Regions from separate parts of the Homo sapiens genome. Here region 1 is linked to region 2. The links are contacts of gene promoters, found by promoter capture Hi-C in blood cells and fetal thymus (Javierre and others, 2016). All regions are on one chromosome and are shown on one strand. Each heading gives the region's core, a stretch centred on a gene start or on the middle of the fragment in contact. The rest is flanking DNA. Distances are from core to core; before and after follow the strand shown. Region 1 holds the start of GALM (galactose mutarotase). Region 2 holds the start of ARHGEF33 (Rho guanine nucleotide exchange factor 33).

Region 1 (6,991 bases), core at 1,327-3,826, 220 kb before region 2:
CAGCTCACTGCAACTTCCGCCTCCCTGGTTCAAGCAACTCTCCTGTCTCAGCCTCCAGAGTAGCTGGGACTACAGGCACATACCACCATGCCTGGCTAGTTTTTTTTTATTTTTATTTTTAGTAGAGATGGCGTTTCACCATATTGATCAAGCTGGTCTCGAACTCCTGACCTCAGGTGATCCACCCGCTTCTGCCTCCCAAAGTGCTGGGATTACAGGCATGAGCCACCGCGCCCAGGCCTCTTTACATTTTAGGGAGACATCATGGTACATTCATTTTCTACCAAATGGAGTAAAAAGAGCTTCCGTAGAGACATTTAGCATTGGGCAGGCAAATACATTTATTTCCTTCTGTAACAGCATGTGCTTGGCAGAACACTGAGAACTGGAGGTTGAGAAAAAAAAAAGTGGTCTTCCTGCTCACTTTTCTAAGACATCCTTGCTAACACAGCATTGCCAAAGGGCTTGCGTGTGAATCACCACAAAGTTAAGTGGCTGATGAAACTGAGAGTTTATGAGAATTTCTGATGAAGCAGCACATAGGAGTGCCTGTCGGTTATTGTATGAGTGTGATGCAGTCTATAATTTGACTTGTTTGGGTCTTTTTATTATTATACGTTGAGCTTCACTGAAGCCTGTTGCAAGCTTTTTTATTTTTCCTTTGCTATCAGAATTCTTCTGCTTCATGATGGAGAATTGAGGCTTTATGGCAAGAATGCTAAATATACCTTAAATTACAGACAGAAGAAGCTGAGAGATAGTTATTATGTTTTATTAGCATCTGATTCCAGGCACATAATCCCAATTCTCATAATTTCCTAATCAAAGATGCATTTCATTTCTGCACTCACCCCAGTCTAGTTGGATACCCTCTGAAGTACCCAGGAACCAAGCCAAGAGCAGTATCAAGAAAAGATAGATGATTATGCAGATGGCTTGAGTAAAACTTGTCTTTAGGCTCCCAGCATCCTCCCACTTCCTAGGCTCAGTACTCCTCTAAAGTTGCCAGACTTAGCAAGGAAGTACATAGGTGCCTGTATGTTATCTCATTAAGGCCCTTAATAGCTTTATCTTAATCCTTCTGCCATCAGAGCCTATTTTTTTGGGGAAAAAAATTCAGATTACTCATCAAGCCTTAGAGCAATATTTCTCTAAATCTGGTCCCAGATAATCTGCAGAAGAATAACTTGGGAACATGAAAAATGCAGATTCCTGAGTTTCACCCTAGACTTCCAGAATTAGAAATTCCAGAGGTGGGGACTGGGAATATGCATTTTAAATGTCCTCAGCAAATTCTGAGACACAATCAAGCAAGACAATTATTTAATAACCTTAGTGTCTTTCCTCTCCAACTGTACATACCTGAAGACTCCATCCTACTTGTAGAAAAGGAGATAACAAAGGTTCAGTACCTGGCATTTACAAGGACCTCAATCAATACTTGTTCCCTGAATCCCTTCTTAAAGGAACTGTGGACTTCAGGAGCCAGAAGACACCAGAGGTCCCTTTCCAGTCCCTTGAAGTAAAATAAGTCTGAGGCTGTCTCTAATCACCTCCGCACACCGAGGGCCTAATCCATCTACCTGACCCTGTCTGGTCCAAGCTCCTCGAGGCTGGCACAGCTTTGGCCGTCAGGAGAGCCTTCTGGGCAGTGGCTCTAACAGAACCATGTCCAGGACTTCATCCGTGGGACAAAAAGAGTGAATCTTCAGTAAGTCTGTGTGCAGAGAAGCCTGAGATGATTTACCTCATTTCTAAGCTACTACTGTACTTTGTTGTTGTTGTTGTTGTTGTTTTGAGACGGAGTCTCGCTCTGTCACTCAGGCTGGAGTGCAGTGGCGTGATCTCGGCTCACTGCAAGCTCCGCCTCACGGGTTCACGCCATTCTCCTGCCTCAGCCTCCCGAGTAGCTGGGACTACAGGCCCCCACCACCACTCCCAGCTAATTTTTTTTTTTTTTTTTTTTTTTTTTTTTTTTTGTATTTTTAGTAGAGGCGGGGTTTCACCGTGTTAGCCAGGAAGGTCTCAATCTCCTGACCTCGTGATCCGCCTGCCTCGGTCTCCCAAAGTGCTGGGATTACAGGCGTGAGCCACCGAGCCGGCCAACTACTGCTGTACTTCTTACCCCCTGTATCAAAGAGTTAAAATCTAATTTTTTCCCAAGATCGGTCTCACTGTAAGTCTGCTATCTGTATTTTCCCATTCTTCGTCTGATAGCCACCGACATTAATGACCAGCTCATTACATGTTGAGGTGTGGGGAGATGGGGGTAGAACCCCGTCAACCCAGGATTCGAGTTTAGAAAGACTACAAGCCCCAAAATGCAATTTCACCTCCCAAAAACTACCATTCCCAACATGCAATGCAACCAGGACGAGCCAAGGAAAAAAAGTACAAGTGTGGCTGCAAAGTTTGCCCCTCTTGTTACCCTCAGGCAAATGATTGATTTAGAAAGGCCCCAGGGGCTATTTTTTGCAGGAACGGTCACTCCCTAAATCCAGGCAGGGAAAGGGAGGAGTCTGAGCCGAGTCACGCCCCTTCTCCTGTAAACTTGGGTCGCCTCTAGCTTAGCGAGCGCTGGAGTTTGAAGAGCGGGCAGTGGCTGCACACGCCAAACTTTCCCTATGGCTTCGGTGACCAGGGCCGTGTTTGGAGAGCTGCCCTCGGGAGGAGGGACAGTGGAGAAGTTCCAGCTGCAGTCAGACCTCTTGAGAGTGGACATCATCTCCTGGGGCTGCACGATCACAGCCCTAGAGGTCAAAGACAGGCAGGGGAGAGCCTCGGACGTGGTGCTTGGCTTCGCCGAGTTGGAAGGTGGGTTGAACTGTGCCCTGGGCTGCGAGCAGGCCCCAGGCCCACGCTACATACCTCCCGGATCTAGCGGGCCACTTGCAATGCGAGGGACCAAGGGGGAAAGTCGCCTAGCTTGGGACCGTCTGACTTGCAAGCGCATGCATCATAGAGGGCCGTGTGGCCATCCAGCATTTGGGAAAAACTGTAATAAATAAACTATGGCAGTTGGCCTCTGGTTATCCGTTCAGGCTTTGCCCCAGTTAACGTAAAAGGTCAGCTGATGGTATGATACACTTCAGCGATCCTGGAGCGATCTTTGAACTGCCTAATCTTTGAACTGCCTGATACCTGGAGAAGGCTGGAGAGGAAAGAGCAGGCAAGAGGGGGTGTGGCTCCCACTTCTTCCCTTCTGAAGAAGGAAATTCAAATACTTGCCTCTTCTACTTCCTTCTTCCTTGATCAGATTCTCTTTGAGGCCTGGTTGTCTCAGAAATGCTCCACTAAGCTCAGTGGTTGCCTAGTACACCAGCTACCCAATAACCATTTAGGAACAAAATAGAGAAGACCAACTCAGTGTCTTCTCAGAGATCAGGTCTCCTACCAACTAGGATGGACTTTTATCCCAGAATCCATGGGCAATTAGGATCAGGCATTAATTAATACATTTGACAACTCTATTAATCCGATGACCTCATTAAACAGGACAGACAAGGTCCCCACTCTTGCGGTTTGGCTGGGGAGATAGACTTTAACTCAGTAATTGCATAAATAAAGAATGACAATTGCAGCTTGATTGCAGCAAAGGAAAATGTACATCATGCTCTCTTAGCACCATGGTGTAACTAGACAGAAAATGAGGTGTGAAATAAAGCTGGCAAAGGGAAACTGAGAGTTAATACTCTCTGCTCAGTGGTTGGGGCGTAGACAAATTCTGCTGGAGAGGAGGTTTGAGGTTTTCCTTTTGGTGTGTCATTCTGTCTGTTTGGTTCTTCCGATACGTAAGATATGTAACTTGGCTCATGGTTACATGTTGGCCAGACCAGCCTGGCCAGCATGGTGAAACCCTGTCTCTACTAAAAATACAAAAAAATTAGCTGAGCATGGTGGCACGTGCCTGTAATCCCAGCTAGTCAGGAGGCTGAGGCAGGAGAATAGCTTGAACCCAGGAGGCGGAGGTTGCAGTGAGCCAAGATTGCGCCACTGCACTCCAGCGTGGGTGGCAGAGCGAAACTCTATCTTAAAAAACAGAGAGCAAATTTCAATTCCTCAGGGAAAAAAACAAAACTCAGCTTTCTGTTGAACACCACCATGCCCGGCTAATTTTTTTGTGTTTTTGGTAGAGATGGGGTTTCACCATGTTGGCCAGGCTGCTGGCGGGCACCTGTAATCCCAGCTACTTGGGAGGCTGAGGCAGGAGAATCACTTGAATCTGGGAGGCGGAAGTTGCAGTGAGCCGAGATTGCGCCACTGCACTCCAGCCTGGGCGACAGAGTGAGACCCCATCTCAAAAAAATAAAAATATACTCTAACCTTTCCCTCTGCCTTTCTGTGTAACAGCTGACCATAAAGAAATTAAGACCCTCATTCCAGAGGGGTCCTGCCCCATACCCGGAGGAAGAAATGCTGCATGGGGAGGCCAAGAAAAATCTGAACACAGGCCTTGCCGAGTTTCCCCACTCACTCTATTAGCAACAGATCTTACCCTTTTGGTCCAATCATATTTCTACATGGCTGTCCATGTTCCATTGGACCTAAGCATAGAAATGGATTGTTTTCCTTGTATCTGTCGGTCTTCATTCTGAAAGCTCCCGTGTCACATAAAACTATAATCAAATAAATTTGTTTGGCTTTTTTATGTATTTTTTATTTTTTAGAGGTGGAGTCTCGCTCTGTCACCCAGGCTAGAGTGGAGTAGTGCAATTATAGCTGACTTGCAGCCTCGAACTACTGGCCTCAAGCAATCCTCCCACTTCAGCCTCCCAAAGTGCTGGGATTACAGACATGAGCCACTGTGCCCAGCTGTTTTGCTTTTCTCTTGTTACCCTGTGTTTGTTGTAGAGGTGTGGGCTGTGACTCTTACAGGGGAGATATACAACACTCTGTTACTATTTTGATGGTGCTCTGATACTACATTTCTAGTGCATTAAAACCTATGTTAACAATAAACTGGTAACAGTGGTTGTTAAGAAAGGATCCTGGGTGCCCAGGGTGCAGAGGATGGGAAGGAGACTTAATTTTCACTGCATATTCTTTTAAACCATCAGAGTATGTAAGTATATATAAACAAACAGAGGTAAATAATTTAAAGTAATAAGACTTGACAGAGGCCGGCATGGTGGCTCACACCTGTAATCCTAGGAGTCCAAAGTGGGAGGATCGCTTGAGGCCAGGAGTTTGAGACCAGCCTGAGCAACATAGTGAGACCCTGTCTCTAAAATAAATAAAAATAAATAAATAAATAAATAAATTTAAATTTAAAAAAAATTTTTTTAAATACTTGACAGAATAAGGGGTTATCTTGACATTACCATATCCCAAAAATGGTTTTGAGCCATGCGGAAGATCTGAGCGTGGATAATTCCATGAGACATGGTCCTTTTGTAACTGCAGAGTTAGATATGAACAATCTTCAATTTCCCAGACAGGTTATATAAACTGTTTGGATGACAGCCATAACCAGAGGTCAGAATGGTTCAGTTTCTCCCTGGGAAAATGGGATTTTTTTCTTTCATAGAATTCTAAAGAAGAAAATTATATAAATTTTTAGTTACAGTAAGAGAGGAGACCACCCCTCATATTGCCTTATGCCCAATTTCTGCCTCCAAAGAAAGAAGTAAAAACTAAAAGGCAGAAACGAAATCCACAGGCAGACAGCCCGGCACTACGCCATGGGCCTGGTAGTTAAAGATCGACCCCTGACCTAACCAGTTATGTTATCTATAGATTCCAGACATTTTATAGAAAAGCAGTGTGAAAATCCCTGTCCTGTTGTGTTCTGTTCTGATTACCGGTGCATGCAGCCCCCAGTCAGGTACCCCTGGCTTGCTCAATCGATCACGACCCTCTCACGCAGACCCCCTTAGAGTCGTAAGCCCTTAAAAGGGACGGGAATTGCTCACGCGGTGAGCTCGGCTTTTGAGACGCAAGTCTGCCTTCTTCAATCCGGTGTCTAAGGAGTTTTGTCTGCGGCTCGTCCTGCTACAACAGCCTAGAAAAATCAGTAATGCCTCCTATGAGTTTTTCAACCTTTTTTTGTATTTAAAAATGTTTTTTGCCGGGCACGGTGGCTCACGCCTGTAATCCCAGCACTCTGGGTGGGTGGATCACAAGGTCAAGAGACAGTGACCATCCTGGCCGACATGGTGAAACCCATCTCTACTAAAAATACAAAAATTAGCTGGGCATGGTGGCGCATGCCTGTAATCCCAGCTATTCAGGAGGCTGAGGCAGGAGAATCACTTAAACCTGGGTGGTGGAGGTTGCAGTGAGCCGAGATTGTGCTACTGCACTCCAGCCTGGTGACAAAGCAAGACTTCATCTCAAAAGAAGAAAAAAAAAGTTTTTCTTTTTTTTTTTTTTTTTAGTGCAGTGGCGCTATCTCGGCTCACTGCAGCCTCCACCTCCTGGGTTCAAGCGATTCTCATGCCTTAACCTCCCAAGTAGCTGGAATTACAGGTGGGCACCACCACACCCGGCTAATTTTTGTATTTTTAGTAGAGACGGGGTTTCACCATATTGGTCAGGGCTGGTCTCAAACTCCTGACCTCAAGTGATCCACCTACCTCAGCCTCCTAAAGTGCTGGGATTACAGGTGTGAGCCACCACGCCCAGCCTAAAAATATTTTTCATCGGCATGTCCCACCTACAGTCATTATGATTTCTTTCAAAGCCTGTGCTGAAAATATTTGCTTATAAGCCACAGGTATAAACAACCTACCCATACAATCATTGAAACGCCTTCCTTTTCATGTTTCCCCCAGTTGCCACCAAAGACCTGGCTATTAACTGCCATGAGAGGCATTAAGGAAAAAATAGAAAAAGTAAATTTAGTGCCTTTAGAAAACCTGGGTTCAGAAGCAGGGATGAGGAAAAAAAAGGATCAGGTTAGAGGCTGCAGTTTATTGTCGCTCACGCCCAGGAGCACCCTGGTGGGAGCATTGAAAATTCCTGGTTTAAAGTTCTGCTTCCTTCCTTAAAG
Region 2 (6,926 bases), core at 3,565-6,064:
TGTAAGGAAGTTTCCCTAATAAATTCTTTGGACTGATCACCCTAGAGCTTAGAGTTTTTTCTTTGGTATTCCAGCCAGCCCTATCTCAGGACAGTTGGAGACTCCCTTGTGGGAAGTCCCCCTGCCACTGCTTTTGGGGTGATTCCAGCCGAGGATTTGAGGGTTTAGAGAGACAAAACAGCAAGGGTTCAATTTCTCCACCTCCTTAGCATTTGTTTTTTGTTTTTGATGATAGCCATCCTGTCTGGTATAAGGTGGTATCTCATTGTGGTTTTCATTTCTATTTCTCTGATGATTAGTGACATCGAGCATTTTTCCAAATACCTATTGACCATTTATATGTCTTCTTTGAAAAAACGTCTGTTCAGTTCCTAATCCATTTTTAAATCAGGTTATTAATTTTTTTTACCATTGAGTTGTAAGAATTCCTCATATATTTTACAGATTAAATCCTGATCTGATATATGATTTGCAGATATTTTCATCCATTCTGTAGGTTGTTACCTTTTCACTCTGTTGATTGTTTCCTTTGCTGTGCAGAAGATTTTGGTTTGATGTGGTTCCACTTGTTTATTTTTTGTTTTGTTGCCTGTGCTTTTGGTGTCATTATCCATGAACTCATTGCCAAGATCAATGTCATGAAGATTTTCCCCTGTTTCCAACAACACATGGAAAGGGTCATATACCATGACCAAGTGAGATTTATCCCTGGGATGCAAGGATAGTTCAACATACGAAAATCAACTAATGTGATATTCTACATTAACAGAATAGAGGACTAAAATCACATAATCAGCTCAACAGATGCAGAAAAAGCATTTAACAAAATTGAGAACCTGTTCATTATTTAAAAAAAAACCTCTTAACAAATTAGGAACAGAAAGAAATTACCTAAACATAACAGAGGTCATATATAAAAAGCCCACAGCTAACATCATACTCAACAGTGAAAAACTGAAAAGCTTTTACTCTAAGACTGGGAACAAGGCAAGGATGCTAACTCTTGTCACTTCTATCTTTAAAAAAGTATACATTAAAGGAGACTATCAAGAAAATGGAAATACCATCCTCACAATGGGATAATATACTTGCAAATCATATCTGATTGTCAGAAATTTGCTTAATATAGTCACTGCCTCAGCATCCATTTTTAGGCCTGACATAAGTTGTCTGACATCCAGTCATATCCCATTACTCTTGGCCTAGTTAAAACTTTCCTTCCCCTTGTAGTTGTTTGCAATACAGCCCACTTGTTCCTTACCCTGCTGACCCAAAACCCAACACATCCCACAGGTGCTGACCATGATAAAACCTAAAGGTCAAAATAAGTCATGCAAAAATAAGTTCCCCCTTTCCACATGTTTTCTTTAAACTAGCCAATCCACAACCCCAGAGGGAAAGCCTAAGGGATAACATCCGTGGACCTTAATAAAGGTGTAGTCCTGTGGTCTTCTCTCTCACCCCCACCCCACTGGTTGAGCTCACTGCTACCTCCAGATTTCCAGAAACCATAGCAATAAAAATTATGACACTGATACAAAGTCTAGTTTCCAAAATGTATAAAGAACTTTTACAACCCAACAATTAAAAAAACCTTAATTTTTAAAATGGGCGGGGGGCAGTGGCTCACACCTGTAATCCCAGCACTTTGGGAGGCCGAGGCAGGCAGATCACCTGAGATCAGGAATTCAAGAGCAGCCTGGCCAACATGGTGAAACCCCATCTCTACTAAAAATACAAAAAATAGCTGGGCATGATGGCGGGCACCTGTAATCCCACCTGCTCAGGAGGCTGAGGCAGGAGAATCGCTTAAACATGGTAGGCGGAGGTTGCAGTGAGCCGAGATCGCGCCATTGCACTCCAGCCTGGGCAACAGAGCGAGACTCCCATCTCAAAAAAAAAAAAAAGGTCAAAGAATTTGAACAGATGTTTCTCTGAAGGAGATATACAAGTAGCCAATAAGTAAACAAAAAGATGCTTAACATCCTTACTCTTCAGGGAAATGAACCTTAAACCTACAAACCCACCGTGAGATACCACTTCACACCAACTGGGATAGCTATTATTATTATTATTATTTTATTTTAAGTTCTGGGGTACATGTGCAGGATGTGTAGGTTTATTACATAGGTAAATGTGTGCCATGGTGGTTTGCTGCACTTATTAACCCATAACCTAGGTATTAAGCCCAGCAAGCATTAGCTATTTTTCCTGATGCTCTCTCTTCCCCCACTTCCACAACATGTGTGTTGTTCTCCTCCTGTGTCCATGTGTTCTCATTGTTCAGCTCCCACTTATAAGTGAGAACATGCATTGTTTGGTGGGATGGCTATATCAAAAAAAAAAAACAGACAATACAAAGATTGGCAATGATGTGGGGAAATTGGAGGCCTCACACATTTCTGGTGGGAATATAAAATGGTGCAGCTGCTGTGGAATACATTTCCTCAAAATATTAGACATAGAGTTACTACGTGACTCAGCAGTTCCTAGGTATGTACGCAAGGGAATTGACTTGCACACGAATGTTCATAGCAACATTATTCATTGCTATAGTCTGAATGTGTCCTTCCAAAATTCATGTTTAAACCTAATTTCCTCACGACTGTAATCCCAATACTTTGGGAGGCCAAGGTGGGTGCATCATTTAAGGTCAGGAGTTTGAGACCAGCCTGGCCAACATGGTGAAACCTCCTCTCCACTAAAAATACAAAAATTAGCCAGGCGTGGTGGTGTGTGCCTGTAATCCCAGCTACTCGGGAGGCTGAGGCACAAGAATTGCTTGAAACTGGGAGGTGGAGTCTGCAGTGAGCCAAGATGGCGCCACTGCACTCCAGCAGGGGCAACAGAGTGAGACTCTGTCTAAAAACAACAACAACAACAACAAAAACCTAATCTCTACTGTGGTAGTATTAAGAGTTGAGGCCTTTAGGAGGTGATTAGGTTATAAGGACAGAGCCCTCATGGATGGGATTAGTGCCCTTATAAAAGAGATGTGAAGGAGATTGCTTGCTTCTTCTGTCACAAGAGAATGATGCAAGAAGGTGCCATCTTTGAAGAAGAGAGCAAGTCCTTACCAGACACTAAATCTGCTAGTGCCTTGATCTTGGACTTAACAGCCTCCAGAACTGTGAGCAATACATTTCTGTTGTTTAAAATTACCCTGTCTAAGGTATTTTCTTATAGCAGTTCAAATGGACTAAGACATGTATAATAGCCCCAACTGGAAACAATCCAAATGTCCATCAACTAATGAATGTGTAAACAAAATGTCCACATAATGGAATATTATTCAGCCATAAAAAATGAAGTACTGATACTACAACATGGATGAACTTCAGAAACATTGTACTGGCCAGGCAGGTGGCTCATCCTGTAATCCCAGCACTTTGGGATGCCAAGGTGTGTGGATCGCTTGCCAGGAGTTTGAGACCAGGCTGGGCAGCATGGCAAAATCCCATCTCTACAAAAAATACAAAAATTAGCCAGGTGTGGTGGCACATGCCTATAGTCCCAGCTACTTGGGAGGACTGCTTGAGCCCAGGAGGCAGAGGTTGCAGTGAACCAAGATCATGCCACTGCACTCCAGGATGGGTGACAGAGCAAAACTTCATCTCAAAAACAACAAACAAACAAACATTGTACTAAGTGAAAGGAACCAGTCACAAACGGCCACATATTATATGATTCCATTTATGTGAAATGCTCTGAATAGGCAAATCCTTAGGGACAGAAAATAGATTAGTGGTTGCCAGGGGAGGAAGAAATTGGGAGGCATGAGGTTTCTAGAATTAGACAGTGGTGATGGTTGCACAGTCTTGAAAATGTACTAAAAACCACTGAATTGTTCATTTAACAGGGACAAATTTTATGTATGATGTGTAAATTATGTCTCAATTTCTTAAAAAGTAGATCTGTGTGTTGTCATATATTCTATGTCCAGAAAACTTCTTTACTTTTTACATAAGATAATTTAAAAATTACCAGAGCAGTATATGTCAACTACATTTAAAAAATTACAATAAAGACCTGAATGTTTTTGCTGAAACTCTATATTCTAAAACTGACAAAAAATAGTGTACACAATAGATAACTTCTTTGTCATATTTCTCTATTCAAAATCTTGTGAATATTTGTATTTCTCAATATGTTATTGCCAAAAGATGTATATTTTTATTTTTTGCTGTACTGGCACAAATTTGGGTTACAATGTCTTCTAAAATGTTAAAATAAAAATGGCATTTTTGTTAGTTTCTCATAATAATAGCTTTATGGCTAATTTTGAAAGACCCTATTTGTAAGTTTTCAAAGACACATTTTAAGAATTGGACATTTTTGTATATGTTGCTAAACATTAGCTGGCATGGCTTTAGAATTAAATATTATTATTATATGGAAATTCATGAAGAGACAAATACTGGACAAGTTAAGATAAGGTGAGAAGATGTTTTCAGGGACCAGGACATATAATTTAAATTCAAAAACTTCTGGAAAATATAGAAAAGTATCTGCTTTGCTGCAAAATAAATTTTCCCTAATTTTTTTCAATTTATTTAAGGCAGCAAGATATATATTTTACTCTTAAAATATTTAACTTGTATTGCTATGTTAATAACTTTTCAAAGTACAACTTTTCAATTTTCTAGTATACCAAAGATATTCCTCCTAAATGGGTTTCTTCCTTTTTACTCATTGAAACTAAATGCAGTTCAGTTATTTGATTAGTTGATGCTAGAATTTGACCTGGAGCTTATATAATTAGAAGAGACACTAGTTTTCCTCATTTAAAAGCCTGGTTAGCATACTACGGTCTCGTTTCAGGGGAAGTCAAGCCTCTCTACTGCTTCTTTTTATAACCTTTAAGTTAATTCAGAACCCAGATAAGCCTTGATCTGAGGATGATATAACCACCGCAGGCAACATGGGGTAAGTATGCGCTTTTATATGCTTTAAGGGGCACTGAAAGGGGAAACAATTTTATAAGAGATGAAAACCCATCAATCCTTACCACGTGGTGTACTAATTTAAATCCAATATATGCTAACATTTATTTGAGGTAGGCATTCAAAGAAATAACTTTTATTTAAGAGTTATAACAATTTGTAAAACATTTATTTCCTTGCTTAATTTTTATATTATGTCTTAACTGCGCTTTGCAGGTTATCGATAAACTGGAGACTGAAGTTGTTCTGCATATTAATAAATATAGTTGAAGATGAGTTAAATTTTGAGAGCAGTCTTAAAGAAAGGATGCTAGACAGCGTAAATCTGACATGGACATGCCTCTTTGGGATTAAGAATAATTAAAGAATGAAAAAGATTAGGGATGGAGGGAGATTGGTTTATTCCTTTCTAACACAGAAAAAGAATAGGGGAATCTTCAGCATTCACTCCCCTATGTACAGAACAAAAAACATATCCTGATTGAAAATGTGTACTGATTAATTACATGGGGGCTTTATTGGTGAAACCTAATTCTAAACACTTCATGGGGCTTTGGTGTGTAATGAGAAGAACTGAGTTTCACTTAAACATTGTCTTAAGTGAGAATAGCGTTCTATTATAATTAGTATTGGAATTATGTGAGTTTTTATATGCTGAAATAGTATTCTGAATATGTAGAAATCTCTATATCACCCTTTTATATTTTTAATAGCCCCTTTTAATACAAAATCATATTGCTGTAAATGGAATAGCTATTTCATTGAAGGCTACTTCTGAAGGATTCAACATAATGATCAGAAATGTATCCTAGAGAAAAAAGTTTTTGATGCACATTTATTCTAAACATTTTTCACAAACTGAATTAATTAATGTCTACATTTTTCATAACCATGGGCTCTGGAAATGCAATCTAAACTCATTTGAAAACTCAGAGGCTTTTGAAACAAGATGACCATACTATTGGTTTTTTTTTTTTTCTTTTTTCTTTTCTTTTTTTAGACAAGGTCTCACTTTGTCACCTGGGCTCAAGCAATCCTCCCACCTCAGCCCCCACAGGTAACTGAGACCACAGGTGCACACCACCACACCCGGCTAATTTTTGTATTTTTTGTAGAGATGGGGTTTCGTCATGTTGCTCAGGTTGGTCTTGAACTCCTGATCTCAAGCAGTCCTCCCACTTCAGCCTCCCAAAGTGCTGGGATTACAGGTGTGAGCCACCATGCTCGGCCTTATTGTTAACTTTTTCTTAATTCCCTTTATTTACCTTCCCTTTTCTCTGTGTATAAGGGTGTACTTCAACATAGCAGGCCAGTAATAAACTAAGTAATGTAGATACAAAGATCAACTGATCTTCCTCCTTCCCTTCCTCTCTCCTTTCCTCCCTTCCTCTCTCCCTCTTCCTTCCTTTCTTTTTCTTTAATGACAGCAGTTCTTAACCTTTTCGGTGTCAAGAATTGCTTTTAGAATCTTCAGAAACCAGTCCACCATTTCTGCAAAAAAAAAAGTAAAATCACACAAAATTTTGCATACAATTTCAGAAGATTTACAGGTGACCTGAAACCCTATTCCTGGGACCACAGGTTAAGACCCTTAGACTTTGATTTTAGGACTGGAGTATGATTTGTTCAATATTTCTCTTTGTTTGGATTTTTATAAATGTAAGAATCTTTAAATTCATAATTCTTGCTAATCTTCTCAAGGACAGTGTGGAAGATTCCCCACCCGCCCCCCACACAATTTACATGAGTGTGAAACACAGTTTAACCAACATGCATCACATTACTGCTGCTGGGCCCCAAGGACTTGACTAATCACTTGTGCCTTTTGAGAGTGCCAGGAATCACCTTGGGAGTCATGGAAGGAAAAAAAACCCTCATTATGTTATTTGTAAAGCACTTTGAATGCCCCAAATAAGATGAACGAAACAAATCATAAATGCTAATATTACAGAGAGCACTCTTCTGATTGGTATGTTCATGATT

The links. Contacts are between HindIII fragments. The CHiCAGO score rates a contact against its expected background, and 5 or more counts as called.
Region 1: a contact is called between the fragment with the promoter of GALM here and the fragment with the promoter of ARHGEF33 in region 2, in 3 of 17 cell types (naive B cells, monocytes and total B cells). The highest score is 7.9, in naive B cells.

Annotation. Positions count from the first base shown.
Region 1 is chr2:38,663,538-38,670,528 of GRCh38, forward strand. It overlaps GALM (galactose mutarotase), which reads left to right and starts at 2,577. Exons shown (of 7, transcript NM_138801.3): 1 at 2,577-2,814. The coding sequence starts at 2,625. RefSeq lists enhancers at 2,329-2,841, 2,842-3,354. The HindIII fragment of the contact is 7,089 bases long and covers 644-6,991 here.
Region 2 is chr2:38,885,061-38,891,986 of GRCh38, forward strand. ARHGEF33 (Rho guanine nucleotide exchange factor 33) reads left to right here and starts at 4,815. Exons shown (of 18, transcript NM_001145451.5): 1 at 4,815-4,926. The HindIII fragment of the contact is 7,511 bases long and covers 961-6,926 here.